5 separate regions of the Homo sapiens genome follow, and regions 1, 2, 4 and 5 are each linked to region 3. The links are contacts of gene promoters, found by promoter capture Hi-C in blood cells and fetal thymus (Javierre and others, 2016). All regions are on one chromosome and are shown on one strand. The core of a region is centred on a gene start or on the middle of the fragment in contact, and the rest is flanking DNA. Distances in the headings are between cores, read along the strand shown. Region 1 overlaps CSDE1 (cold shock domain containing E1). Region 2 overlaps SIKE1 (suppressor of IKBKE 1). Region 3 holds the start of RSBN1 (round spermatid basic protein 1). Region 4 overlaps LRIG2 (leucine rich repeats and immunoglobulin like domains 2). Region 5 has its middle 5.3 kb from the start of CSDE1.

The links. Contacts are between HindIII fragments. The CHiCAGO score rates a contact against its expected background, and 5 or more counts as called.
Region 1: a contact is called between a fragment that was not itself captured here and the fragment with the promoter of RSBN1 in region 3, in 1 of 17 cell types (total CD8 T cells). The highest score is 5.3, in total CD8 T cells.
Region 2: a contact is called between a fragment that was not itself captured here and the fragment with the promoter of RSBN1 in region 3, in 3 of 17 cell types (total CD8 T cells, fetal thymus and total B cells). The highest score is 6.9, in total CD8 T cells.
Region 4: a fragment that was not itself captured here is called in contact with the fragment with the promoter of RSBN1 in region 3 in 1 of 17 cell types (M1 macrophages); the score reaches 6.4 in M1 macrophages.
Region 5: a fragment that was not itself captured here is called in contact with the fragment with the promoter of RSBN1 in region 3 in 1 of 17 cell types (total B cells); the score reaches 5.1 in total B cells.

What each region holds. Positions count from the first base shown.
Region 1 is chr1:114,726,254-114,732,029 of GRCh38, reverse strand. It overlaps CSDE1 (cold shock domain containing E1), which reads left to right. Exons shown (of 20, transcript NM_001007553.3): 11 at 1,382-1,522; 12 at 1,608-1,772; 13 at 4,940-5,047; 14 at 5,644-5,776. It also overlaps the pseudogene RNY1P13. Among named protein-coding and RNA genes, the nearest start is that of NRAS, 12 kb to the right of the region's middle. The HindIII fragment of the contact is 879 bases long and covers 3,709-4,587 here.
Region 2 is chr1:114,774,884-114,780,400 of GRCh38, reverse strand. It overlaps SIKE1 (suppressor of IKBKE 1), which reads left to right. Exons shown (of 5, transcript NM_025073.3): 2 at 186-291; 3 at 1,117-1,259; 4 at 3,942-4,055. Among named protein-coding and RNA genes, the nearest start is that of SIKE1, 3.0 kb to the left of the region's middle. RefSeq lists an enhancer at 1-530. The HindIII fragment of the contact is 221 bases long and covers 2,259-2,479 here.
Region 3 is chr1:113,810,943-113,816,536 of GRCh38, reverse strand. It overlaps RSBN1 (round spermatid basic protein 1), which reads left to right and starts at 4,061. Exons shown (of 7, transcript NM_018364.5): 1 at 4,061-4,827. The coding sequence starts at 4,125. It overlaps AP4B1-AS1 (AP4B1 antisense RNA 1), which reads right to left and starts at 3,925. Exons shown (of 5, transcript NR_125965.1): 1 at 3,712-3,925; 2 at 2,046-2,150; 3 at 1,065-1,159. PTPN22 (protein tyrosine phosphatase non-receptor type 22) reads left to right here. Exons shown (of 21, transcript NM_015967.8): 21 at 1,568-2,726. The coding sequence ends at 1,632. RefSeq lists enhancers at 3,661-4,190, 3,927-4,316, 4,191-4,720, 4,697-4,786, 4,937-4,996 and 1 more. The HindIII fragment of the contact is 4,966 bases long and covers 1,398-5,594 here.
Region 4 is chr1:113,122,486-113,128,411 of GRCh38, reverse strand. LRIG2 (leucine rich repeats and immunoglobulin like domains 2) reads right to left here. Exons shown (of 18, transcript NM_014813.3): 18 at 1-4,537. The coding sequence ends at 4,311. It also overlaps the pseudogene RLIMP2. Among named protein-coding and RNA genes, the nearest start is that of LRIG2, 52 kb to the right of the region's middle. The HindIII fragment of the contact is 252 bases long and covers 1,535-1,786 here.
Region 5 is chr1:114,760,384-114,766,115 of GRCh38, reverse strand. No RefSeq gene overlaps it. Among named protein-coding and RNA genes, the nearest start is that of CSDE1, 5.3 kb to the right of the region's middle. The HindIII fragment of the contact is 499 bases long and covers 4,023-4,521 here.

The DNA.
Region 1 (5,776 bases), core at 2,899-5,398, 920 kb before region 3:
CAGCCTGGCCAACATGGTAAAACCCCGTCTCTACTAAAAATAGAAAAATTAGCCAGGTGTGACGGTGGGCACCTGTAATCCTAACTACTCAGGAGGCTGAGACAGGAGAATCGCTTGAACCTAGGAGGCAGAGGTTGCAGTAAGCCAATACCATGCCGTTGCCCTGCAACCTGGGTGACAGAGGAAGACTGTCTCAAAAAAATAATTGCAAAAACATCTCATCATGTTTTAAGAAGGTTTAACAATTTGTTGTGTTGGGCCACATTCAGAGCTGTCCTAGGCCATGGTTTGGACAAGCTTGCAATTAAACCAGAGTCAAAAAGGTTTTGTTTTGGCAGAACTTCACAAATTGTTTTTTAAGAGTTTGTGTCTGGGAGTGGCATAAACCAACCAGATTTTTTCCCAAACATGTTTTATGAACTCATTTTCTCAGACATAATTTGCATTTAGTTACGTTTGGGATCATATCATCTACACTATAACTCAGTGTTGCCAGTGGAACTGGGTACATTGAATGAAAATTTAAGTTTCTTGAGTTTTTTTTAATCCTTTGCCTTTGAAGAACTGGTTGTATTTGACACAGTGTATTTAACTTTAAAAGTTTGTAAGTCTGAATGTGTGATTTTTTTTTTTTTTTTTACATTTTCAAAGGCAAGATCTGTTTTGCTTTACGGTATGGAAAATATAACTTGGCTACTGTCAGGACTTGGCAAGGATTAAATGTCAAAATATTGTTTAGGTCATATTTAAAACTTACAGAATCACTTCTGCAGTGAGCAGATATGTAGTATGTAATACAATAGCAGATTGATAATTTGTGTTCATTGTTTCATTAAACATGAGTATCTACCATGTTCCAGGTACTCTTGATACAGTAAGCCTTACAAAGCTGATAATTTAGTAAGAAGGAAAAAAAAAAAAGAGAAAAGATTGCATATATTTTATTCTTCAGATGTAAATTTTAACTCTTTCCTGGGCCTAAACTCATGCAATTTTTGAGGTAGAGACTGGAGAAGTGCCTTTGTCTACTTTGGAATTATGGTCTGTAAATTAGTGAAGTTTCTGGAGATTATATTGTCATTAGACTTGGGCTTTTATGAAATACATTGTGTTCACGTGTTTACGTTCACATGTGGTAATTTTTTCTAGTGCATATTTGCCAGGAAGTAGCAATTGGAGAGTCTTAGAAAATTGCTCAGGTTAAGTTACTTTGTTGAAAGCAATGAGTTTGTACTTAAGTGAGAACAGTTCAAATGTGGATACAGTATTTGTGTCACATCAGAGAAAATTCCTGATGAATTTAACTTGATGGTGGTTGTAAAGTTGAATGTTGCCTTCTTGACAAGTTTCACAGCCAGTGAAAATATTATTTGGGTTTCAGGGTGTGATTGCTGCCATGAGAGATGGTTTTGGTTTCATCAAGTGTGTGGATCGTGATGTTCGTATGTTCTTCCACTTCAGTGAAATTCTGGATGGGAACCAGCTCCATATTGCAGATGAAGTAGAGTTTACTGTGGTTCCTGTGAGTTGTTTCTGAGAAAAGTTGGGAGGTGTTTCTTGATGCTTTCTTTTTCAATTGAAAGTTAATTTTGTTTTATCATTTTTAGGATATGCTCTCTGCTCAAAGAAATCATGCTATTAGGATTAAAAAACTTCCCAAGGGCACGGTTTCATTTCATTCCCATTCAGATCACCGTTTTCTGGGCACGGTAGAAAAAGAAGCCACTTTTTCCAATCCTAAAACCACTAGCCCAAATAAAGGCAAAGAGAAGGTAGGTTTTGCATAATCCAAATGATTTTTGTAGCTGTTTATTTCTCTTCTGCTTTAACAGCACATAGTAATAGAGTACATATAATCAGCGGAAGTTTGTCTCTTTCAGAATTTCTGTCATATTAACAGTGAACTAAACAAAGTAAGGTTTCTTAACCTTGGGATTATTGACATTTTGGGATGAATGATTCTTTACTGTGGGGGATGGGATGTTTAGCAGCATTTCTGGCCTCTACCCACTGGAAGTTAGTATTCTGACCCCTTTTCCCTGCCTCCCATTGTGACAGCCAAAAATGTGTCCAGACATTGCCAAATGTCCCCTGGGAGGCAAACTCATTCCAAGTAGAGAACTAGTTATATAAAATGATAGTACTGTCTTCCAGGCAATTTAAAACTTTCAAAGTTGGGTGTATCCTCAGTTCACACATTTAAATTTCATTTATTGAAAAATCCACTAAATAGGAAATAGAAAGATGTCTGAGATGAATTCTCCTTTCAAGTTAATAACAAATTGAGAGTTTTATAGAAACAAGTAATTCATATAGAATATAAAATATTGCTATTGAAGGTCAGCGATAGTGCTCTGGTGAAAATTAACTGGTAGGGTATGTGATGGTTTTACTAACAGATGGAGACAGGAAAGAGCATTCTTCACAGAGTAAAAGTATAGATGAGAAAAATTCAGGGTTTCTTTAGGAAGCAATGAGTAACTAGTCCGACAGGAATTTTTTTTTTTTTTTTTTTGGTTTTGTGTGTGGGTTTTTGTTGGTGAGGGAGGTTAGGAGAAATAAGGATGAAAAATCAGGATCCAGCTAGACTGGGAGGGTGTTGATTGCTGCTCTAAAGAATTTAGACCTTATTGTCAGGTGCGGTGGCTCACACCTGTAAACCCAGCACTTTGGGAGGCTGAGGCGGGCGGATCACGAGGTCAGGAGATTGAGACCATCCTGGCTAACATGGTGAAACCCCATCTCTACTAAAAATACAAAAAAATTAGCCGGGCATAGTAGTGGGCACCTGTAATCCCAGCTACTCGGGAGGCTGAGGCAGGAGAATGGCGTGAACCCAGGAGGCAGAGCTTTTAGTGAGCTGAGATGGCGCCATTGCACTCCATCCTGGGCGACTGAGTGAGACTCCGTCTCCAAAAAAAAAATTTAGACCTTGTTCTGTACTTCAAGGAAAAGATTTCTTTTGGATAATGACATCAGGTATGTGCTTTGGGAGAGTAATGGCAGCAATATGAAGCCTAGATGGGATGGAGAAAGACAAAAGATGAAAAGGATTACTATGAAATTACTTGGATAGTTAAGGTAGTCCTTGAACTAGGCACACAGATAGTGACTATAGACAAGTGAAGGTACATGAGAGATACTGGAAAGTCATGTTATAATTTAATAATTGCTATTAGCCAGAAAGAGCAAGGCTAGTATCTTGCTTATCACTTACTGTAGCTTGGGAAATTATTTCACCTCTGAGCTTCAGTTTTTAAATTTCAAAAATGATTGTGTAATAGTTTAAAAAGCCCTCGAAGTACCTAGCTCATAATAGGAATTTCGCATGTGACAGATGATACTGTTAACAAAAATAAAAATACACTTCAGTTGGGCTTATTTTTAATAACTTTTAATTCTTGGAATGCTCTGCTTCCCAAATGTGTCTGGCAAAACTGGCTTGATGAAGAGAGCCTTTGTGTGAGACTTTCCCTGCCATTTTTTGTTTTTTTTTCTTTCTTAGTCCAACAGTACCCTAGTAAATCCTCTGTCATCATGCTTCTTACAGTATATAACATTTACCTGTTAATGAATCTGTCTCTGCTGCACTGGACTCCCTCAGGGCAGGGATTCTCCTATCTCTATTTAATATATTTGATGTATAGTATATTGTCAGCTGTTGATGTTGAAGTTGGTGAGTTAAGAGCAAAAGGTGAACAGTAAGCTTTTGAGTTTGGTTGTGGAAAAGTTGATGACATTGGAGTCAGACCTGAGTTCACTGACATTGTTCTTAACCAAACTCAAATCCTCTGGATTATTTTGCGCTGGGTTTTGTAACCTTGGTAAGGTTTACTTAATTCCTCAGATTTCCCCAATTTGTAAAATGAGGGAAAAGAGAAACTATGGAGATGATTTTGTACAAGATTAATTTGATAATACATAATACCTGGTAATGTTGTAAGTGTTCAATAAATTATTATATAGCAGTTATGGAAGGAATGTGATTGGTAGAAGAGGAAAATGAATTGGTTTTGAATATATCGTAGTTTGTAATGAGGACTGGAGTTTAGGAAGGAAGTCAGGGCTAGAGTAGGGACATGGGCATTATCTTCATAGAAATGTTGAAACCATAAAATCAGTATAATTTATGTAGTTGCTGTACACTGTCATTACTTAACGGTGTGATTCAATACGACACACCTGAACTTTCTTAGACTTTTATTTTTTTAGTCAAGTGCAGTAGTGAGAAGGGGGGAAAGAGGAGAACAAGGAAGTTCGATCTGTAACTGACTGAACAATCGAGATAACCCACTACCTTCAGACCAGCCCTTAGATTTTTTAAGAGTTAATCATTCTTACACGTACGATGACTGAAATGTTGTTTCTCCTTGAAGTCTGGTATTAAAAAAAATTGTTGAAATACTAGTATGTCATAATTTTTAATCATCTACTTTATGTCAAGTACTTGAACTGTGCTAGATCATACACCAAATTATCCTGCATTGTTAAGTATATTGATTGACATTATATATTAAATACTGTGCAAGGTGCTGTGTGCTACTAAAAGAGGATACTTCAGCAGCTTCTTTAGGAAATACTAAAGCTTCTTGCCCTTATAGAATTTCCACTTCCTTGGAAGTAACATGCCCAGTTTAATTTCTGATTGGCTATGAGGAGCGCAGGTGTATTAAACATTTTCAGTAAGCTTTTTTCTCCTCAATAGCAAAAATTAGATTCTTAAGATTGAAAGACCAATTAAAAATTACAGCAGACTGAGCTAGGCTTAAGGCAAGACTACCTTTTATTCATATGAATAATCTTTTAGAAAATGCTGGAATAAGACATTTTTACAGCTGTACCAATCCTTTGGCACAAGAATATGTAAGAACTATAGTTGTTTTTATTGGTTTTTGTTCTTGAGATTGTTTTCATTCTGTTTTTGACTGTATCTCTTTAGGAGGCTGAGGATGGCATTATTGCTTATGATGACTGTGGGGTGAAACTGACTATTGCTTTTCAAGCCAAGGATGTGGAAGGATCTACTTCTCCTCAAATAGGAGATAAGGCAAGATAATTCTGCTCATTCGAGAGAGGGTTAAGAGTTGTCATCTTAATCATAAATCCTGCAGGATGGGTTCTTCAAATTTTATCAAGTTTTGCTGAAATATATTTTGTGTTTAAGAGAAATACATGAATATCTTGTATTTGAAAGCAGCTTATTAAAAGTGTCTGTCAAGCTCTTTGTTAATCAAAGCCTTGTTAATCTAGCTGTTTAAACGTTAGATAAAACATGCTTAATAAAATCGTTATTGGTAAGAAAGTTAAAACAGTTACTACTGAAACATTATCAAAGTAAAAGCACACCAAAGATTTTACGTTGTTGTTCATTTTTTCTCATACTTAATATGTTTGGTTTTTGGATAGCCCTCTAGAGAAATTCAGAATCTATAAGGAATACAGACTGAAAGATAAAAGTTTGATCCTTTGTGAAAAGTGGGATGAGACATAAATGTTTTGGTGAAAATCAATTTCATTGAAGTAATAACAAAGGATATTTGGAATGAAAAGCATGCGCTGGGGGAGTTATAGGTCTTGTTTTCTGAGTTAAGGAGATTGGTGTGGAAGTGATATGGTGTTAATGAGCATCCTTAATTTTCACAGGTTGAATTTAGTATTAGTGACAAACAGAGGCCTGGACAGCAGGTTGCAACTTGTGTGCGACTTTTAGGTCGTAATTCTAACTCCAAGAGGCTCTTGGGTTATGTGGCAACTCTGAAGGATAATTTTGGATTTA
Region 2 (5,517 bases), core at 1,120-3,619, 970 kb before region 3:
GGGTGGAGAGCGAGGTAAAGTGGGAACTCGGCCTGGAATTTATTCCCGGTCTCAGAGGGCGGCGGTGAGACCATTTTCCTGGGTCGGGGCTGAGAATCCTGCCCTGGAGCCCTAACTTCTGCCTCTTCAGTTGCATCTGCCGCTGTTCTCTTTAAGGCATGCTTAGTCTGTCTCTATTTGTCCAGTATCAAGAGGATGCATCCGATATGAAGGACATGTCCAAATACAAACCTCACATTCTGCTGTCCCAAGAGAACACACAGATTAGAGACTTGCAACAGGAAAACAGAGGTTAGTCAGGCCTTTTCATATCTGGTAATAGTTTAAAGTTATTGCAAAATTGCCCTAAACATTTACAAAAGTGTACATATATTTCCAGGTCAGTACTTTTAGTAGGAGAGTCCTCCTGATCTGGCCCAGTAACAATAAAGTTTGTTAGATTACCCTTTTCAAGGTCATCTGACTAATATTGCAGCAGCTTACCAAAGAGGTGCTGTGTAGAGTTGGTATTATTGCATGGTTTATTTTTAAGCATCCTCAGATGTGTAACAAAAGAGTTCATAGCCTCATGGACTTAAAATTTAATGTTTAAGTATTAATATAAACACTGAAGGTAAGATTTAAGGTTTTGTTTATGTTCTTGTTTGTGCAAGGTGAAGCAGCAGAATTTTATTCTAAGGGTATATATTCTTAGGCTTGATTAGTACATTATTAATGATTGTGGTATTAATAGTTGTTTACCAGAGGGGTTTCACATATATCATTCTACTGTATTCTCATATCTTCATTTTTATCTACCACAATGCAGTTAAGAAATAGGCTCAGAAGAAGCTAAATGATTTACTTATGAGTATTAACCAAGCAAGTTACAGAACTGAACTCAAACACATGTCTTCTGATGATACATCCATTGTTGTTTCTGCAAGACTTTGCTTCTCTGCCTAGAAAGTTACCTTTCACATAGACTTTAACTGTTCAGTTTTGCGGACTTAAACATTGATTTACAACTTTAGATTCATATTATCTATATAGTGTTACAAAATTCCAACTGTTAAGACTTTGGATTTGGGAACTGTCTCTCAGACATCACTGCCAAGTTCTTTTATTTTTTGACAGAGCTATGGATTTCCTTGGAGGAACACCAGGATGCTTTGGAACTTATCATGAGCAAATATCGGAAACAGATGTTACAGTTAATGGTTGCTAAAAAAGCGGTGGATGCTGAACCAGTCCTGAAAGCTCACCAGTCTCACTCTGCAGTAAGAAACTTTGAATAAATTCGAAATGAACCAAATTGAAATCTTGAGATTGTTTTAGATTGTGTGCTTGTTTTTTTGCTTTGTGAGATAGGGTCTGGCTCTTGTCGACCAGGCCGTGGTGTAATGGCACGATCTCGGCTCACTGCAACCTCTGCCTCCTGGGCTCAAGCCATCGTCTCACCTCTGCCTCCGGAGCAGCTGGGACTACAGGTGCACACCACCACGCCCTGTTAATTTTTGTGGGGTTGTTTGTTTGTTTGTTTGTTTGTTTGTTTTTTGGTAGAGATGACATTTCGCCATGTTGCCCAGGCTGGTCTGAAACTCCTGGGCTCAAGCGATCCACCCACGTTAGCCTTCCAAAGTGCTGGGATTATAGGCATGAACCACTGCGCCTGGCCATGTGTGCTTGTTTTTGAAGAAAAGTAAGCTCATTTTCCTTTCATGTTTATCACATTTGTTGTTTATTTTGCCATGGCTTTGTAAAGATATGAATAGAAAGAAGGAGGATAGGGGCTGCTCAGATCCTTTTATTTGAGTGGGACTAAGGTTCCCCCTCCCTCACCAAGATCTCTTTTGAAAATGTTCATTAATTCTTAGCGCTCCCACCAAACATAATGCCAGTTAGTGTTGAAGCTGCCTGGTAAACACTTGGTTGGTTATTACTTATACATTTAACTTAAGCTCCTTGCTTGTAAGGCGCATGAATTCACATTTTATTCCTAACATAGTACCTGACATACAGCAGGCAGTCAGTAAACCTTTTATAAACTGAACCACATAGTATCATACTATGTTGTTAGGGGAGAGAAGTATGGTTTTTTAAAAAAACAAACATGGCATAGTTTCTGTTCTTTGCTAATTTGGGAGACTCAGTAATTGTTCTTATGTTTATAGGTGCTTCATGGTTGTCATTGTACATTCTTGTGTACTGTATCATTTAATTCTAGATGTATAGGGTTGGAGCCTACTACTTCTGTGAGATGTAGTGAAATATAAGCTTCATCTTAAATTCCATTGAATGCATTTTACTGACTTAAAAGTTTTAGGAAACAGATATTTTAAATATTTGAATGGCTTTCATCTGGAAGAGAAAAATAGATTTTCTTCTCGTATGGAGGAAAAAACTTGAACCTTGAAAGAGACAGAGTTTACTCAGATAGATAAACTTTCTAAGTGATATGTCCAAAGATGGAATAAAGCACCTTGGAATGTAGTAAGCTTCCTGCCAGTAAAAGTATTCAAATTTAAGTTAAACAGCCACTTAGAGATAGTATCCAACATCCAATGGGTAGTTAAACTACAATTGATTTTTTTTTTCCATTTCAAATCTTTTTATTGGAGTGTGGACCTACTGGGGGATTGATGCACTGGACATAGATAATTTTCAGAAATGAAAATAACATTGCTTGCATCGAATCAGATTTCACCCACAAAAATGACTAAGGCCTTACCAGAGTTGGCATTGGATGAAACCTTAGTCCTTTATGGAAAGGGAATCATGTGGCCTTCTATTTCTGAAATAGACTAAAGATTACTCATTTATTCTCTGCAATTACAGCCATCAGATCCTTTGAAATCTTGGAAGGCATGAGATGATGACATGAGTGTAACACAAATCCATATTGAAGAGCCCAGTATTTTAAAATTCCCCATGTTCACATACCAAAGGGTTACTTATGAGCTGATGCATATCACAGATAACCATATGATTATCAACTTGATGTCTGGGCAAAGAGCGAAAACAGAAAATGCATTCTACTCTTCACTTCTTGGTTTTAAATATAAGAAACATTATATATATTTTAAAAAACTGTATTCCTTAGTAGTGGTATCAATAGAACATATACAACTGGAATGAGGATCCCCTTAAGGAGGCCTTTTTTTTGTTTGTTTTTTAAATAAGTTCTAGGGTACATGTGCAAAACGTGCAGGTTTGTTAACATATGTATACATGTGCCATGATGGTGTGCTGCACCCATTAACTCGTCCTTTACATTAGGTATTCCTCCTAATGCTATCCGTCCCCACTCCCCCAACCCTATGACAGGCCCCGGTGTGTGATGTTCCCCACCCTGTGTCCAAGTGTTCTCATTGTTCAATTCCCACCTATGAGTGAGAACATGCGGTGTTTGGTTTTCTGTCTTTGTGATAGTTTGCTCAGAATGATGGTTTCCAGCTTCATCCATGTCCCTACAAAGGACATGAACTCATCCTTTTTTATGGCTGCATAGTATTCCATGGTATATATGTGCCACATTTTCTTAATCCAGTCTATCATTGATGGACATTTGGGTTGGTTCCAAGTCTTTGCTATTGTGAATAGTGCCGCAATAAACATGTGTGCATGTGTCTTTATAGTAGCATGATTTACAATCCTTTGGGTATATACCCAGTAATGGGATTGCTGGGTCAAATGGTATTTCTAGTTCTAGATCCTTGAGGAATCACCACACTGTCTTCCACAATTGATTTTTTGAAAGAAAAAAAAAAAAATATCCGTGAATACAAGGTCACTTTACTATGGCTTCATGTCTGAGGACTAAAATTGTAGGGAAACTCCATTGTAACTTCTGTATCATAGATTAAATGAACTTTTAAAAATCGTAATGCACATGCTTTTACGTTCTTTATATCTACAGAACAGGTGATTTTTCCACCTTTGTTTCCTTAATATCTTCACAGGAAATTGAGAGTCAGATTGACAGAATCTGTGAAATGGGAGAAGTGATGAGGAAAGCAGTTCAGGTGGATGATGACCAGTTTTGTAAGATTCAGGAAAAATTAGCCCAATTAGAGGTAAGATTGTAGCTAATTTAGGTTCACAGTATTTCATAGTTTTCCGAGTCTGGAAGATATGCCATCACTATCCCATCACTGTAATATATTGATGTTTTCTGTGTGCTCATGATTTAAAATTAAAACTCCTCCTTCATACCCTTTTATACCCTTTTGAAGAAAGGAAATATAGTAAACAGCAATCAATGGAAATACCAACTATGTATTGGCAAGAACTTGAGGTATTATCATATGGGAAGGTAGAGGGAGTGGAGGGGAGAAGTTATATGTGAGATAAAATCCTTCATCTGCCATAATAAGAAGTGAAGTAGATAATGTCTAAAATTGATGATCAGGAAATAGCAGTATAAGCATATTATTTAGAATTACAGAATTAAATACCAAAAGAAATAGATAAAAGTGTTAAAAGTGGTTGCATTTGGGGTACAAAGCCAAAGAACTGCTTGTATAAGCCTTGTAGTCTTGATTTCTTAAAAGCTATGTTTATGTCATATTTTGATTAGAATAGGAATATGTTACAAAAAAAGTTCGGGGTATTAGTGTGCTCATAAAATTGTTAAGGAAAAACATTTCAACTTTGAGAGGCTGAGGTAAGTGAATTGCTTGAGCCCAAGAGTTCAAGAGCAGCTTGGGCAACATGGCGGAACCCTGTCTTTACAAAAAATACAGAAAATTAGCCAGGTGTGGTGGTGCACACCTGTAATCCCAGGTACTCAGAGGCTGAGGTGTGAGGATCACCTGAACCTGGGAAGTCAAGGCTGCAGTGAGCCACGATCATGCATGCCACTGCACTCCAACCGAGTGACAGAGTGAGACCCTGTCTCAAAAAAAAAAAAAAAAAAGCAAAGCATTTCAGTGAATGGTTTGAATGCTGCTTATTACAAGGTGCTGTCCTGGGGCCTTTGAGAAATACCAGAGAGAAAAAAACAGATACCTGCCCAGAGTCTAGTGGAAGGGATAACCCTAGTATTATATGATATTAAATAATATGTAAATGCTAGGAGACAGATACAAATACCGAAGGAAGCACTTCATGTGGTAGAAGATTCGTCGACCACAGGCTCTAATCTCTTAGTTACTCTAGCTGGGACTTCCGCACATCTTGGTGAAGCTAAAAATGCTTTGGTTTACCAGAGTTTTCTGCAGAGGATAAGGATGAAGAGCAGAAGCTACCCTCTCTAGAAATCAAAGGTAGTGACAGGTCCCAAGTAGGAATTAGGAGCTAGTGAAATGATAGCATGACCTTCTATTTATCCCCGATTTACCTCACTTACGGAAACAGCCCTAAGGAAATGTGGGGCAAATTCTACCTTAATACTTCAAGTAGAAAATACACGACCACCAGATTCAGACCCCAGCAATACCACATCCAAGTTGTCTGAATTTGGACAACTTTTAGGAATTTTGTGAGCCAGAGTATCCTCATCTGAAATATATGGATGTAGGCAATGATACCTACCCT
Region 3 (5,594 bases), core at 2,812-5,311:
CTCGGATTATAGGTTTGAGCCACCATGACTGGCCTGAGGAACATTTGAGTACTTACTATGTGCCAGGCATTGTGCTGGATGCTGTTTTTTTTTTTCAATTCTTTTTTTTTTTCCCCTCTGCAGCCTTGACCTCCCTGGGCTCAAATGATTTGCCCACCTCAGCCTCCTGAGTATCTGGGACCAGAGGTGCAAGCCACCATGCCCGGCTAATTTTTTTGTGTTTTTTTGTAGAGACAAGGTTTCACTATGTTGCCCAGGCTGGTCTTGAACTCCTCGGCTCAAGCGATCCACCTGCCTTGGCCTCCCAAAGTGTGGGATTATTCAAAGGCATGAGCCACTGCACCCTGCCCCATTCGCTTTTTACACAAATATCTCATTTGATCCTTACATCAGTTTTTTAAGGTAGATAATACAATTTGTATGATGATGAAATTAAAGGTTTAGGTATATCTTTGAGTTTTTCATTTTATTATTCCCCTATACTTCAAACATTTCATTTCTTACTTTAAGTCCCTAAAGTTGCTAAGTGTAAGATAACTTAAAAATACACTGCCATTAGGCCTGGCTCAGTGGCTCACACCTGTAATCCCCAGACTTTGGAAGGCCAAGGTGGGTGGATCACTTGAGGTCAGGAGTTTGAGACCAGCCTGGCCAACAGGGTGAAACCCCATCTCTACTAAAAATACAAAAATTACCCAGGCATGTTGGCTGGCGCCTGTAATCCCAGCTACTCAGGAGGCTGAGGCAGGAGAATCGCTTGAACCCGGGAGGCGGAGGTTGCAGTGGGCCGAGATCGCGCCACTGCACTCCAGCCTGGGCGACAGAGCAAGACTCTGTCTCAGACAAAAAACAAACAAACAAAAAGACACTACCATCAAAAAGAAAAGTCATAAAGTCACATGTTGCTGAAATGATAAAGAACCAACATCATCAACATGCACATCTTTTGAAAGCATCCAGAAATAGCCTTCATTAGTTGTGAAAAATTTTCTCATCCTCCTTCTTTGGGGTGGGGTAGGGGGAACAAGTTTGAAGAAGAAAGATAAATAATAATGTTTACTTACCTACTTAGTTTTTCAGGATTGTTTATTTTTTCTAAGATTTTCAAACATAATCTCTTGGTAAATTGAAGGATTTCTGGACCGACATAGAGGTATAACTAGATGTAATACAATAATGTTATAAGTAACGGTGCTATATTTTTGTGAAATTAAAATTTCCTGACTTCATTTAATGGGATGGAGTGGATGACAAAAAGTCATAGACAAATGATATTATATACTAAATTATCAAAGCCTATATATAACCAGGGTCCTACATTCTATTATTACCATTATTAAATTTGTAAGTGCTCTTCAAATTTAAAGTGTTATTAGTATTCTGTTATCATTTAAGCTTTAGATTACTACAATCCCTTTATAATCTATTACTAAACTGGTCAAGATGCTGCCTAACATTTAAAAAAAGACCATGTATTTGCATATATTATAATATACTCTAAAATCCAAGTATTCATTTCTATACTTAAAACATCTTTCTTTTCATTCAACTTTATTTTTGTTCCCAGGTTTTGCAAACCGTTTTTCAAAACCCAAAGGACCAAGGAATCCACCACCAACTTGGAATATTTAATAAAACTCCAGATTTATAATAATATGGGCTGCAAGTACACCTGCAAATAAAACTACTAGAATACTGCTAGTTAAAATAAGTGCTCTATATGCATAATATCAAATATGAAGATATGCTAATGTGTTAATAGCTTTTAAAAGAAAAGCAAAATGCCAATAAGTGCCAGTTTTGCATTTTCATATCATTTGCATTGAGTTGAAAACTGCAAATAAAAGTTTGTCACTTGAGCTTATGTACAGAATGCTATATGAGAAACACTTTTAGAATGGATTTATTTTTCATTTTTGCCAGTTATTTTTATTTTCTTTTACTTTTCTACATAAACATAAACTTCAAAAGGTTTGTAAGATTTGGATCTCAACTAATTTCTACATTGCCAGAATATACTATAAAAAGTTAAAAAAAAAACTTACTTTGTGGGTTGCAATACAAACTGCTCTTGACAATGACTATTCCCTGACAGTTATTTTTGCCTAAATGGAGTATACCTTGTAAATCTTCCCAAATGTTGTGGAAAACTGGAATATTAAGAAAATGAGAAATTATATTTATTAGAATAAAATGTGCAAATAATGACAATTATTTGAATGTAACAAGGAATTCAACTGAAATCCTGATAAGTTTTAACCAAAGTCATTAAATTACCAATTCTAGAAAAGTAATCAATGAAATATAATAGCTATCTTTTGGTAGCAAAAGATATAAATTGTATATGTTTATACAGGATCTTTCAGATCATGTGCAATTTTTATCTAACCAATCAGAAATACTAGTTTAAAATGAATTTCTATATGAATATGGATCTGCCATAAGAAAATCTAGTTCAACTCTAATTTTATGTAGTAAATAAATTGGCAGGTAATTGTTTTTACAAAGAATCCACCTGACTTCCCCTAATGCATTAAAAATATTTTTATTTAAATAACTTTATTTATAACTTTTAGAAACATGTAGTATTGTTTAAACATCATTTGTTCTTCAGTATTTTTCATTTGGAAGTCCAATAGGGCAAATTGAATGAAGTATTATTATCTGTCTCTTGTAGTACAATGTATCCAACAGACACTCAATAAACTTTTTGGTTGTTAAACTGACTTCATTGCAGTAGTGTTTAGGTAATACTTCTCCAGAAACTAGTGAAATCAAACCACAGTAATTTTATCTGCTGAGTATATATCATTGTAATCAATTACTTCCAAATGTCTTTATCAATAAACAAATATACTAAAAGAATTCTAGGTAACCATGAGTTACTTAGGGCACCATGAGTGCATCTGTAGACCCAGCTACTCATTCCTTGAGCCCAGGAGTTGGAGGCCAGCCTGGTCAACAGAGCGAGACCTTGTCTCTTTTTTTTAAGAGTCAGGGTCTAGATCTGTCACCCAGGCCAGAGTGCAGTGGTGCGACCACTCCTCCCACCTTAGCCTCACGAGTACCTGGGACTACAGGCGCGTGTCACGACACCCAGATAATTTAAAAAATACTTTTGTAGGGACAGAGGCTCACTATGTTACCAACGCTGATCTGGAACTCCTGGCCTCATGCAATCCTCCCGCCTCGGCCTCCCAAAGCTCTGGGATTACCGGCCTGAGACACCGAGCCCCGCCCCGCCCGTCTCTAAATAAATACTTAAAAGAACCCCAGGTAAAAGCTAAAGCGAGGATGAAATTCTAAATGAATTTCTGAGCAACAACTATCCGTAGTGAGCAGTGATGATTTTTGGTGTGTTCTCCGGTAGGCACACTTTTCAAATTTATGCAATCTTATCCTTAAGATTTGAAAAAAAAAAACTTATAAAAAATCTTAAACGTGGTTTTCCATCTACAATTTTTCGCAACTGTAGGGATATATTCAAAATAAATGCTGGACATTTCCAGGCATTAGAGGGGATGTGGCCGGATGGCGAGGAGGGGCCGTCCTCACCAGGACTCCAAGCAGTTCTCGCACCTGACTTCGTAGGCCTGTAGTTGTAACCATAGCAATGCCCCAGATGCTTGAAAACATTTCTGAATTGCGGCCCTATCATATTTTTACAGCAAAACCACCCTTATTTTACATATTACTAAATCCTCTTTTCACCTTCATTTCATCCCTCGTCAAAGTTAAAAGGATGAAGATTCTTTTATCTCACAAAGGTTATGAGAGAAATATTAAATTTAAAATCACTGTGGAGACCACCTCCTCCGTGTAAAATGAGGAAGGGTCACAGGAAGATGATAATGGGAACGCGCCGCCAGACTCTGAAAGCCATTAACATTGTTTCGGCCGTTAGGGCGGTTGGCGGCAACTCACCGCCCAGCGGCGGTTGCGTCGCAGCCAGAAGCGTGACTTCGCGCACGCTCCCTTTCCACTCCTCCACTCAGAGCCGGGGACGCGGCGGGGGCGCGGCGGAACTACAGCTCCCATGACGCTTTGCGCGGCATAGGGTGCTTTACAATAGAAGCTCGGTTGGAGAGGCCTGCGGAGAAAAGCTGGGAACGGCCGCTTCCGGCATGTTCATCTCTGGACGAAGAACGGCCGACAAGTGGAGGGCGGAGGAGAGACTCCAATGCCCAGCGGGCAGTGCGCGGGCGGCGCTTGCGCGATGCGCGGACGGGGGGGCGGTCGGGCCATTTAAATGTGTGTTTGTGGGTGAAATGGCTGCGCAGGTCGGAGCGGTGCGCGTAGTACGGGCGGTGGCGGCGCAGGAGGAGCCGGACAAAGAGGGGAAGGAGAAACCTCATGCTGGGGTCTCCCCGCGGGGAGTTAAACGGCAGCGCCGATCTAGCAGTGGGGGGTCTCAGGAGAAGCGGGGGCGGCCGAGCCAGGAGCCCCCTCTCGCTCCCCCTCACCGGCGGCGTCGCAGCCGCCAACATCCTGGGCCGCTGCCGCCAACGAATGCAGCCCCAACTGTCCCAGGCCCTGTTGAGCCTCTTCTCCTGCCGCCTCCGCCGCCACCTTCGCTGGCACCCGCCGGGCCCGCTGTCGCTGCCCCTCTCCCGGCCCCAAGCACCTCGGCCCTCTTCACCTTCTCGCCTCTGACGGTGAGCGCGGCCGGGCCCAAGCATAAGGGCCACAAGGAGCGGCACAAGCACCATCACCACCGCGGCCCCGATGGTGATCCCAGCTCCTGCGGAACCGATCTCAAGCACAAGGACAAGCAGGAAAACGGCGAGAGGACTGGAGGGGTGCCTCTGATCAAAGCCCCCAAGAGAGGTGAGAGCAGGCAAACTGCCCGGCTTGGGTTCTAGGTCTCTCTCAGTTCCGATATCCCGCATCTTTAGGACTGAAAGACGCCAAACCCCTGCTTACCTTCTGCTGCTGTACTTCTCTAAGCTCACTGGGGTGGACCCTGGATTTCAGATCGTTGACACGGTTTGATCTAACTACTTGAGGCTTCTCGCTCCGAGGCCGAGCTGTCAGTTGCTAATCCCTTTACCGGTCCCCCGGAGCCTCTCAGCATTTGTTTTCAAATTCTGCAAGGTTTCCGCGCCGCGTTAGATTAGTAGGTGGGGTACTAAAAAATGCCTTTCCAAAGAAAAGGCATGTTCCTAAAATCCCTTCTCCTTGTTTTGCTTGCTGGAGAGCTTTAGTTATCTGCTCTCCCTTGCTCCAGAATAGTCAGGGGTATGGTTCCAGTCTTTCAGGAGGGAATTCATATAAAGGTTACACGACTCACTGGTTGACTTAGCTTCTGCAAGGTAAAATATCAGACGCAGTTTATCTTGGTTCTTTTTAATCTAGAGGTAAAAATCATTTTAAAGTTTTCATATTAGCTATTTAAATTCTTAGAATAGGCATGTGGAAGGTTTTCTCTACCCTTTGATACTAGGAAATAGGACCAACAGTGCCTCTGAAAAGTGGGAATTTGTGCAGTAGATAGTAGAGGCCGGAATTTCAGTTGCATTTGATTCTGTCTAGCACACTTTGTGGATCTGTTAATTCCAATAGCCCTCAAGAATATTTTACTAGAAAATGTCAGA
Region 4 (5,926 bases), core at 411-2,910, 690 kb after region 3:
CTTGATTACAAAGCCAGTAATAAGCAGACTCAGGAAGCGTACAAGGTCTTAATGAGTCAGTCTAGTACAAACTACACCATAATCTAGTAAGAAAGGAAGAAGAGGGATCGCAGATTGAAGGGATAGGAAATTGTGATCTTTAGGAAGTTCAAAGTGAAAATGATCAGAGGCTGACATAGTAAAGACATAAAAAGGTGTGGCAGTACTAAACAGCTCAAGAAGTGCTGCTGCCCATGGGAGAACACTTAGGATTGAAAATAAGTATGAATAAATGCTCAACTTTCTGGCAAAAAGTTGAGAAATTATGTGAGTTTGGAACCCTTGAACCAGGACTTAAAAATAGATATTTTTATTTAAGTGGCTGAAATTATCTAGTGAGTAATATTGGATTTAGAAGAGAGAACTGGACAGGAAGTGTAAGGAAATCTGAAAGCACAAAGAAAGAATTACATTGCATTAGAGTGTGAAGTTATTTACCTAAAGCTCTTTGGTATCAGAAATTCAAGAAAATTTTTGGCTTAATCACTTGTATAAAATAAGGACCGGCCGGGCTCGGTGGCTCACGCCTGTAATCCCAGCACTCTAGGAGGCCGAGGCGGGTGGATCACCTGAGGTCAGGAGTTCGAGGCCAGCCTGACCAACATGGAGAAACCCCGTCTCTACTAAAAATACAAATAAAATTAGCCGGGCATGGTGGTGCATGCCTGTAATCCCAGGTACTTGGGAGGCTGAGGCAGAAGAAGGGCTTGAACTCGGGAGGCAGAGGTTGCAGTGAGCCGAGATTGTGCCACTGCACTCCAGTCTGGGTGACAGAGCGAGACTCCGTCTCAAAAAAAAAAAAATAAGGACCACTACAAGGCTTTACAGTATAAGAATTTTGGGGCCAGGCAAGTGGCTCATGCCTGTAATCCCAGCACTTTGGGAGGCCAAGGCAAGCAGATCACCTGAGGTCAGGAGTTCAAGACCAGCCTGGCCAACATGGTGAAACCCCATCTCTACTAAAAATATCAAAAAAAAAAAAAAAAAAAAAGCTGGAAATGGTGGTGTGCCTGTAATCCCAGCTACTTGGGAGGCTGAGGCAAGAGAATTGCTTGAACCTGGGAGGCGGAGGTTGCAGTAAGCCAAGATCATGCCACTGCGCTCCAGCCTGGGTGACCGAGAGGGACTCCATCTCAAATAATAATAAAGAAAAAAGAATGTTTGCATGTTCTTCTACTCCCAAGAGCACTCTTCCCTTCTTAAGATATACTGCACATTGGTAAAAGATTAAAAACAAAACAAACTTGGAAAAGAAGCAATCTTTGGTTTCCTGGTCAATGAAGAACTTTGCTGAAAGAAGATATTCCCATTCAGAGAAAGCACAAAGTGAACACAACTAGAAACAACTGAAACTCAGTCTGGTATTTCAATACTGTGTCATAACAGCCAGACAACTTTCCAGCTGTTCTTCAAGACAGAAAACTCAGATTCTGACAATGAAGAAGATGGATGTGGCCCAGTGCAGAAGTCGGATGGACAAATGGTTCCAGAAGCTTTCTACTTGCAAATAACCTGAGTGATGAAGATTACAGGCTTATGAGTGATAACAATTTGCTAGGCACTATAGGTGAAGTACAGAAGAGTTGCTGAGAAGGTTACAACAAATTAAAGAGGATTCCCCACAAGAATCAGGTGAAAACAGAGGTGGATGACGTCTAGCACTAGTAATGGGTCTGTAATAAAGTGGCTTACCTCTTTTGGGCAAACTGAAAATATGACAGGAAGTAAGCAAAGAGAAAACCAAGCTTGGACAGCAGTGAGCCAGAGTAATCCATATAGTGGTAATTTCAGATTCAATGTAGGGATCAATTTTATCCTTAATAATGGAAGGCTGAATACAGAAAATGAATATGCATCATCTGCAAGATTTCCCAGGGGAGAAAATAGGGAAAACAGAGGAAAGTGGAAAATCCACAATCTGAGTCAACATTTGCAAGGCCACCTAGGTCAGGTACAAAGTGCGACAGAAGTATTAATGAAAGTTCCACTTACCAGAGGTCAGAGAAGACTGAGAAGCAGGAGCCCAGACCAATGGAGAACCAGAGCGAGAAATAAAAGTAGGTTCCCTCCAAATTCATGGTGAGAAATTTCACAAATATTTCATGATAATATACATCTCAGACTTTTGAATGACCCCTGGTAAATGAGACAGAGATTTTCTAGAACTCAGCAACATGAGACATTGAGAGAGCAAATAACTGACCCATAGTTGCAAAGTGGCATGTTTTTGTAGCTTTTGGAACATGGAATGCCTTTCCAGGAAAACGTTCTCCAGACACAATCAGAAATGGTGAATCTGGGGCACTGAGACTGAGAAATCCAGTCATAGTCCTGATTGTGATAGTAGGAAGAGTTCATCATGGGGAATATTTGCCAAGATATAGCACACCTAATAGAACCCAGTTAACATCTCCAACACCAAACAACAGTCACTTTAGAAAGTGAACAAAGAGAACTCAGAAATAATATTTTCACATTCTGAGCAAGCAGGTGTGAGCACCTATTTCACTACCAAAAGAATTCCTGTTCACAGAATTTCAAATACTCATTTAAATAATACACCTGTTGCAACTCAAAGAGCATTAAAGCAGACAATGACAAGATTTGCAGACTCAAATATGGACAGTGATAGTGATTTGTATCCTAGCGGCTCACCCCAGTCAGAACATGGCAAGAGCAAAGTCACAGAATGAAAGAGATGGTTCTGATATCAGCAACTGTTCTGGCTCCAATTCATGTCACAGTACTGCTTATGAGTCTGACTCAAGTTCTGCAATCTTTAAATCAGCCTCCAGTTTTTGAAGCGTTCATTATACATAAAGTAACAACCCGATCTAACTCATTGGTTCCTGAAGGAATGACTGAACCTTCCTCAATCAATTTCTGTTTCAGTAAAAAAAAAGAGGGAAGGAGGGAGAGGGGGAGGAAATGAAAGGAATTTCCAAACAAGTTTTCCTCTAGGTGCATACAGCTGTGACAGGACTGCCAGGCTCTGAAAGAACAAGCTTTTTATGTTAGAAAGGGAGTATCACCTAGCACTTTTAAACAGATGGCAAATGACCAGAAGTATGAACCTCTAGGCATGAAGAAGGCGGTTAATTACACCAAGACTGTGTTTATGTGTATACAATCACTAAGTAGCTGCCTCTATAGATACACTTCTTAACAAGTAAGTTTTTAAAACTTTTTATTTATTTATTTTACTTTTGAGCCAGGGCCTCACTCTGTCACCCAGGCTGGGATGCAGTGGCTTCACACAGCTCACTGCAGCCTTGATTTCCCGGGCTCAAGTGACCCTCCCACCTCAGCCTCCCAAGTAGCTAGGACTACAGCAGCATGCCACAATGTCCACCTATTTTTTTAATTTATTTTTTTGCAGACACAGGGTCTCACCATGTTGCCCAGCCTGGTCTCAAATTCCTGGCCTCAAGCAATCCTCCCACCTTAGCCTCTCAAAATGCTGGGATTACAGGTGTGAGCCACAGTTTTTATACTTTAAATAAAATTTTTAGATCTCACTAAATTGAGTTATTTAAAATCTGTGATCTGAGAAGCTACTTGTCAATATTATAACTGGATATTACATATAATTTTGGCATATCAAAAATATTTACATTGCAGCCAACACATATGGTCAATGAATACAAAAATTATTTATAAATGCACATATATTTACAATGACATCCCTGGGCAATAGGGACAAAAAAAAAAATTCACAAGAATACAAAAATCTTTGACCTGGTACCAGTTGGTCAAGCCTGGGATTCTTGCCAAAGACCTTGAATATCAAAGCCCCAGTCTCAACTATCTGCCTGAAACCACTGAAGAATCCCAGGCACACTTCCCAGAAGGCTCCAAAGTTATTTTTGCTCCTTGGAAAGCAAAGTAGAACATCGAAGTAGTGATGTTTTCTCAGGACCATTCTGAAGACTAGGGCAATCCAGCATGTTAAGCAGCAATGTGACTCTTCCTGACAAGCAGATGCACACCAGGGCACATCCCCATGGAAGCATCAGGAAGCACATTTGCCCCGTATCTTCCCTCTGCCGGTGCTGCACATTTTTGATGAGCTGTACCCATTTCTGTCAGCTGTTGCCATTTCTTCATCAGGTATAAGACCAAACAACGCATGGCCCACCTTGGTGCGGTCAGATGCAATCATAAAGAAAGAGTAAAGCAAATGCTGACTTCGGAGTTTCTTCTGAGCTCTGAGGTAGTAAATGCAAAATTAATTAATAAGTCTCTGCCCAGATTTCATCCTGAAGTGAGTTTCATGTGCCCTCACTACCATCTTGAATGTTCCGAGTCCTACTAAAATCAAAAGCATGATCCTGTAACCTGTGGCAGGACATGGAAGAAGCAGAACAGTCTGGCTCTCTCCCTGCCAGGCCCTCATTTTGATGAAGTTGTGGTGACTCATGGACTGGCTGCTGGGAAAAAGGAGGATGAGGCAGGCCTAGTTCTCTGTTTATGTTCCACACGGGCCGCTGCAATGTTTCTGAGAATGAAAGACAAGAATTATCAGTAGTGACTGGTAAAACTTAATATCCTTTTAGCCAAATCCTCAAAGAAATAAAGATGTTCAATATTCCTGAATAGGGACACTGAAATCACACACACACACACACACACACACACACACACAAAAACCACCACCAGAACATGGTCTTTCAAATCCCTCTACTTCACAAACCTAACCAATTATTTACTGAGATCATACTATATATCGTCTACTGTCACCTGTTATTTTAGCGATTCTGTTGCTACAAAATTTTTTATTTTATTTATTTATTTTTTTGAGATGGAGTTTCGCTCTTGTTGCCCGGGCTGGAGTGCAATGGCGTCATCTCGGCTCACCGCAACCTCCGCCTCCCGGGTTCACACAATTCTACTGCGTCAGCCTCCCAAGTAGCTGGGATTACAGGCATGTGCCACCATGCCCAGCTAATTTTGTATATTTAGTAGAGACAGGAGTTTCACCATGTTGGCCAGGCTAGTTTGAACTCCCAACCTCAGGTGATCCGCCTGCTTCAGCCTCCCAAAGTGCTGGGATTACAGGCGTGAGCCACCGTGCCCGGCCACAAAATTTTTAAATAAAACTCTTTAGACACATGGAAAAGAACTAAAAGACAAAATGGTATCCATATTGTAATGAAAGTTTCATGATAGGTAATAATCATTGATTCAGTGCAGCCATTATATCTTTAAATATGTCACAAAATTGTTTTAAAAATAAACAGCCATTCCCTTCCAACTCCTAGCATGTCAACAATTCTAACAACAAATGATAGTCAAAAGGAGCTGTATTAAATCAGATTATCTGCACACTGGTTTCAAATATGCATTTCTCATTCTTCTTTAATTACAATGGTGAACTATTTTCCCAAAGACTGTTTACTGAAAGTTATATTAACTTCATAGGGTACATTTTAGAAAAAGCTAGCCAAACATTATAAAAACAAATACCCAGAAATAAAAATAAAATCCATGTGAAAAGTAAGCTAGAGCAGGGTTTCTCAAGTTTTAATTAATATGCACACAAATAACTTGAGGATCTTGTTAAAATGTAGACTCTGATTTGCTAGATCTGCTCTGGGGTCATTACTCTGCATTTCTAACAAGCTCTTAGGTAACGGTGATGCTGATAGTCAACAGACCAGACTTCGAGTAAGAAGAAGCTAGGATACCCCACATAAAAAATCGCCAATGGGCCGAAGCACTCTCATTTGCTGATTTCCTTACTTACGGACCAGATTAAAAATGAAGGCATCCCCAAAGTTACAAAAAAGATGGGACTACATTTCTGGTCCTTCTTAAACCCTTTTTGTATTAACTCTTCTAAGACATCCAACAGTAAAAGTGGATTTACTGTTGATGCATTTCTTTC
Region 5 (5,732 bases), core at 3,023-5,522, 950 kb before region 3:
GAATTTTTAAAATATGGTCAAATTTATTACTGAAAAGAAAGAGATTCAGAAGAGTTAGACTTTGTGAAGAAGTTTTAGGAATACCTTAACAAATTTATTTTGCCATTTTTTTTTTTTTTTACTTCATATACACACAAAAGGGAGACATGATTTAAATCTATGTCTAGGCAGGGCACAGGTGGCTCATTCCTGTAATCCCAGTACTTTGGAAGGCTGAGGCAGGAGGACTGCTTGAGCCCAAGAGTTCAAGACCAGCCTGGGCATCGCAAAACCCCATTTCTACAAAAAAATACAAAAATTAGCCAGGCGTGGTGGTGCATGCCTATAGTCCCAGCTACTCAGGTGGCTGAGGCAGGAGGATTGCTTGAGCCTGGGAGATGGAGGCTGCAGTGAGCTGAGATCATGCCACTGCAATCCACCCTGGACAACAGACTGAGACCCTGTCTCCAAAAAAAAAAAAAGTTTAAAATAGCCCTTTCAATAAATATAAAAATTCTAAGTAGTGAAAGTTTTATTTCATAATTGTATTAGTCAGTTCTCGTGCTGCTATAAGGACATACCCGAGACTGGGTAATTTATAAAGAAAAGAAGTTTAATTGACTTTCAGTTCTGAAAGGCTGGGGAGGCCTCAGGAAACTTACAATCATTGCAGAAGGGGAAACAAACACGTCCTTCACATGGTAGCAAGGAGAATGAGTGCTGACAAAAGGGGGAAAAGCCCCTTATAAAACCATCAGATAGGCTGGGAGTGGTGGCTCATGCCTGTAATCTCAGCACTTTGGGAGGACGAGGTGGGTGGATCACTTGAGGGCAGGAGTTCAAAACCAGCCTGATCAACATGGTGAAAGCCCATCTCTAGTAAAAAAAAAAAAAAAAAAAAAAAAAAAAAAAAAAAAAAACTCAAAATTAGCTGGGCGTGGTGGTACACACCTGTAATCCCAGCTATTTGGGAGGCTGAGGCAGGAGAATTGCTTGAACCCAGGAGGCCGAAGTTGCAGTGAGCTGAGATCGTGCCATTGCACTCCAGCCTGGGCAACAAGAGCAGAACTCCGTCTCAAAAATAAATAAATAAATAAATACAAATAAAACCATTAGATATTGTGAGAACTCACTCACTATCATGAGAACAGTGGCACAGGGGTAACAGCCCCCATGATTCAATTACCTCCCATCAGGTTCCTCCCACGACATGTGGACATTATGGGAACTACAATTCCAAATGAGATTTGGGTGAGGACACAGCCAAACCACATCACTCCGCCTATGACCCCTCCCGAATCTCATATCCTCATATTTCAAAACATGATCTTGCCTTTCCAACAGTCCTCCAAAGTCTTAGCTCATTCCAGCATTAACCCAAAAGTCCAAGTCCAAAGTCTCATCTGAGACAAGGCAAGACCCTTCCCTTATGAGCCTATAAAATCAAAAGCAAGTTAGTTACTTCCTAGATACAATGGCGGTACAGGCACTGGGTAAATATACCCTTTCCAAATGGGAGAAATTGGCCAAAACGAAGGGGCAATAGTCCCCATGCAAGCCTAAAATCCATTACACCAATCATCAAACCTTAAAGTTCCAAAATGATTTCCTTCGTCTGACTTGATGTCTCATATCTAGGTCACATTGATGCAAGAGGTGGGCTCCCACAACCTTGGGCAGCTCCACCCCTGTGGCTTTGCAGGGTACAGCCCCCCTCCCAGCTGCTTTCACAGCTGGCGTTAGGTGTCTGCAGCTTATCCAGGCATACGGTGCAAGCTGTCAGTGGATCTACCATTCTGGGGTTTGGAGGATGATGGCCCTCTTCTCACAGCTCCATTAGGCAGTGTCCAGTGGGGACTCTGTGTGGGGGCTCCAACCCCACATTTCCCTTCTTCACTCCCCTAGCAGAGGTTCCCCATGAGGGCTCCACCTCTACAGCCAACTAATGCCTGGACATCAAGGCATTTCCGTACATCCTCTGAAATCAAGGCGGAGGTCCCCAAACCTCAATCCTTGACTTCTGCACACTCACAGGCCCAACACCATGTGTCAGCTGCCAAGGCTTGGGGCTTGCACCCTCTGAAATAATGGCCTGAGCTGTACCTTGGCCCCTTTTAGCCACAGCTGGAGTTGAAGTAGCTGGGACTTAGGACACCGTGTCCCAAGGCTGCACATATCCCAAGGCTGCACAGAGCAGGGGGTCTTGGGCCTGGCTCAGGAAACTATTTTTCCTTCCTTGGCCTCCAGGCCTGTGATGGAAGGGGCTGCCATGAAGGTCTCTGACATGCCCTGGAGACATTTTCCCCATTGTCTGGATGATTAGCATTTGTCTCCTCATTACTTACGCAAGTTTCTACAGCCAGCTTGAATTTCTCCCCAGAAAATGGGTTTTTCTTTTCTACTGCATCATCAGGCTGCAAATTTTCTAAACTTTTATGCTCTGCTTCCCTTTTAAATACAAGTTCCAATTCCAAACCATATATTTGTGAATGCATAAAACTGAATGCTTTTAAGAGCACCCAAGCCACCTCTTCAATGCTTTGCCACTTAGAAACCTCTTCCATTAGATACCCTAAATTCTCTCTCTTAAGTTCAAAGTTCCACAGATCTCTAGGATAGGGGCAATATGCTGCCAATCTCTTTGCTAAAGCATAGCAAGAATCACCTTTATTCCAGTTCCCAACAAGTTCCTCATCTCCATCTGAGACCACTTCAGCCTGGACTTCATTGTCCATATTATTATCGGCATTTTAGTTCCAAACTTTCCCACATCTTCCTGTCTTCTGAGTCCCCAATTCTCTAGGAATTTCCAAACCTTCCCACATTTTCTTCTTCTGAGCCCTCAAAACTGTTCCAGACTCTACCTGTTACCAGTTCCAAAGTCGCTTTCACATTTTCGGGTATCCTTATAGCAGTGACCCACTAACTCCTGGTACCAATTTGTTGTGTTAATTCATTCTCATACTGCTATAAGGACACACCCAAGACTGGGTAATTTATAAAGGAAAGAAGTTAAACTGACTCACAGTTCAGCTTGGCTGGGAAGGCCTCAGGGAACTTATGATCATGGTGGAAGGGGAAGCAAACATATCCTTCTTCACTTGGTGGCAGGAAGGAGAATGAGTGCTGAGCAAAGGGGGGAAAGCCCCTTATAAAACCATCAGATCTTATGGGAACTCACTATCACAAGAAAAGGAGCATGAGGGTAACTGCCCACATGATTCAATTACCTCCCATTGGATCCCTCCCATGACATGTGGGGATTATTCGAACTACAATTCAAGATGAGATTCAGGAGAGGACACAACCAAACCATATCAATAATGAAAATGGCTACATATTTTCTTCTAGAGCTTTAGGGTTATTTTATTTATTTATTTATTTTTAAATTATACTTTAAGTTCTAGGGTACATGTGCACAACGCGCAGGTTTGTCACATATGTATACATGTCCCATGTTGGTGTCCTGCACCCATTAATTCGTCATTTACACTAGGTATATCTCCTAATGCTATCCTTCCCCCCCTCCCCCATCCCACGACAGGCCCTGGTGTGTCATGTTCCCCTTTCTGTGTCCAACTGTTCTCATTGTTCAATTCCCACCTATGAGTGAGAACATGCGGTGTTTGGTTTTTTGTCCTTGCGATAGTTTGCTGAGAATGATGGTTTCCAGCTTCATCCATGTCCCTACAAAGGACATTAACTCATCTTTTTTTATGGCTGCATAGTATTCCATGGTGTATATGTGCCACATTTTCTTAATCCAGTCTATCATTGATGGACATCTGGACTGGTTCCAAGTCTTTGCTATTGTGAATAGTGCTGCAATAAACATATGTGTGCATGTGTCTTTATAGCAATGGCTACATATTTTCTTATTAGTAATCCATAAATGATGACCTACCATACAATCACTACTGCCTTGGATTCAATAAAATAAGTGAAATTTACTCATTCAATGAATATTGTTTAAGTATTTACTGTATACGTAAGTCACTGTGCCAGGTTTTGGGGATACAATGATGAACTAGAGAATTGAAGCTTATGCTGTAGTTCAGAGGGATGAGCAATAAACAAATGGAAACTGATAGTTTAGTGGGTACTTTTACTTTAGAAAAGGCCTTTGTAAAGTGGTTAACATTTGACCTGAAATCTGAATGATGAGAAAGTGCCCAAAGATTTGGGCTAGAACATTCCAGGCAGAGACAACAGTAAATTCATGGGCCTTGAAGTAGGAACAAACTTACAATATAGGAAGAACCAGTTAACCAGGGGTTAGAGAATTTGGTGGGGACTATATCATTCAGGGCCTTGAAGAGCACAGTAAAAGAGTTTGGATTTATGTTAAATACAATTGGATTTCATCAGGATTCAGTTTAAGTTAAATTATAAATATTCTGTTGCTCTACCCTTCCCTCTATTAACTGACTCCCAGAGCTACAATGTTAGATGGTTACTTTTGGTGCAGCATTTTAGCATGTCCACATAATTATCCTATTAAGTGCAATTTTAACATTTTAAAGGGAAGCATTATATAAAGCTTTTGCATTCTTATTTAAATTCTAATATTTTATTACATTAGTGGTATTATGTTATTCTTATTTATATAATGCCCTTTAACTGTTTAGAGGCTGGTTAAAGAATAAAAAGTTTTGGGTTGTAGGCCTATAGGACCAAATCTTAATTATTTACATTAATTCTTATGGAAATAATTCTTCTTTATGAATGTTTTTGCTCTAGAAGTATTATTTCTGTTCTGAAACCTTGGATGTGGACCTCTTTACCATGCACTATTATCATAATTTTATCTTATTTAATGAAATATTTTTTAAGACCTTGTCTCATTCTGTTGCCCAGGCTGAAGTGCAATAGCACGATTATGGCTCACTGCAGCCATGACCTCCCAGGCTTAAGCAGTCTTCCCATCTCAGCCTGCTGAGTAGCTGGGACCACACATGCATCACCATGCCTGGCTAATTTTCAATTTTTTTGTAAAGACGGGGTTTCGCTACATTGCCCAGTCTGGTCCGGAACTCCTGAGCTCAAGCGATCCTCCCACCTTGGCTTCTAAAGTCTGGGATTACAGTTGTGAGCCACCGTGCCCAGCCTATCATAATTTTATAAAAGAAGATCCTCTTTAGTTTCCCTAAACAGGGAGGACATGTCAGAATAAAAACAACTCTTAAAATCTGGAATAAATTTAGCCTTATTTAATTTTTTTAAAAAAGCTCTATATTGACCTAATTTTTCTCATTCGACAGAGAAATGACAAAAATCTCACCCACCGCTGCTCAAGAAAACCTTACAAACTGTAAGAAATGCTTACTTTTGATTCTAAAGTAGACTTCAGAGATAATGTACTTATTGATGATTGTAGAGGGAAAAAAAGCACACAATCATTATCAATTTCATTGTCTAAGTTTTTCAGAGTAGAAAACTAAATATGATGAATAACTAAAAATAATTTCTCAAATTTTTTTCTGATGGTTCCTTAACAGACTATCTTCCCAAAATCCATGTCACCCTGTTGCATAGGAGATGGTTTTCCAAAGTGATTTAACAAGTTTCTGATTTAATTTAAAAAAAAACATAAAAAGATAACCACATTTTTTCAGTTTTTGATTTGACTTCAAAATTCATCTGAAAAAAATCATTATGTAGTGATCTAATAATGAAACCTACTTCTGTTTGTGGGTTTTACTTGTAGAAACAGTAAATCATTTTAACTTGTGATTTATATCAAATTGTTCCAC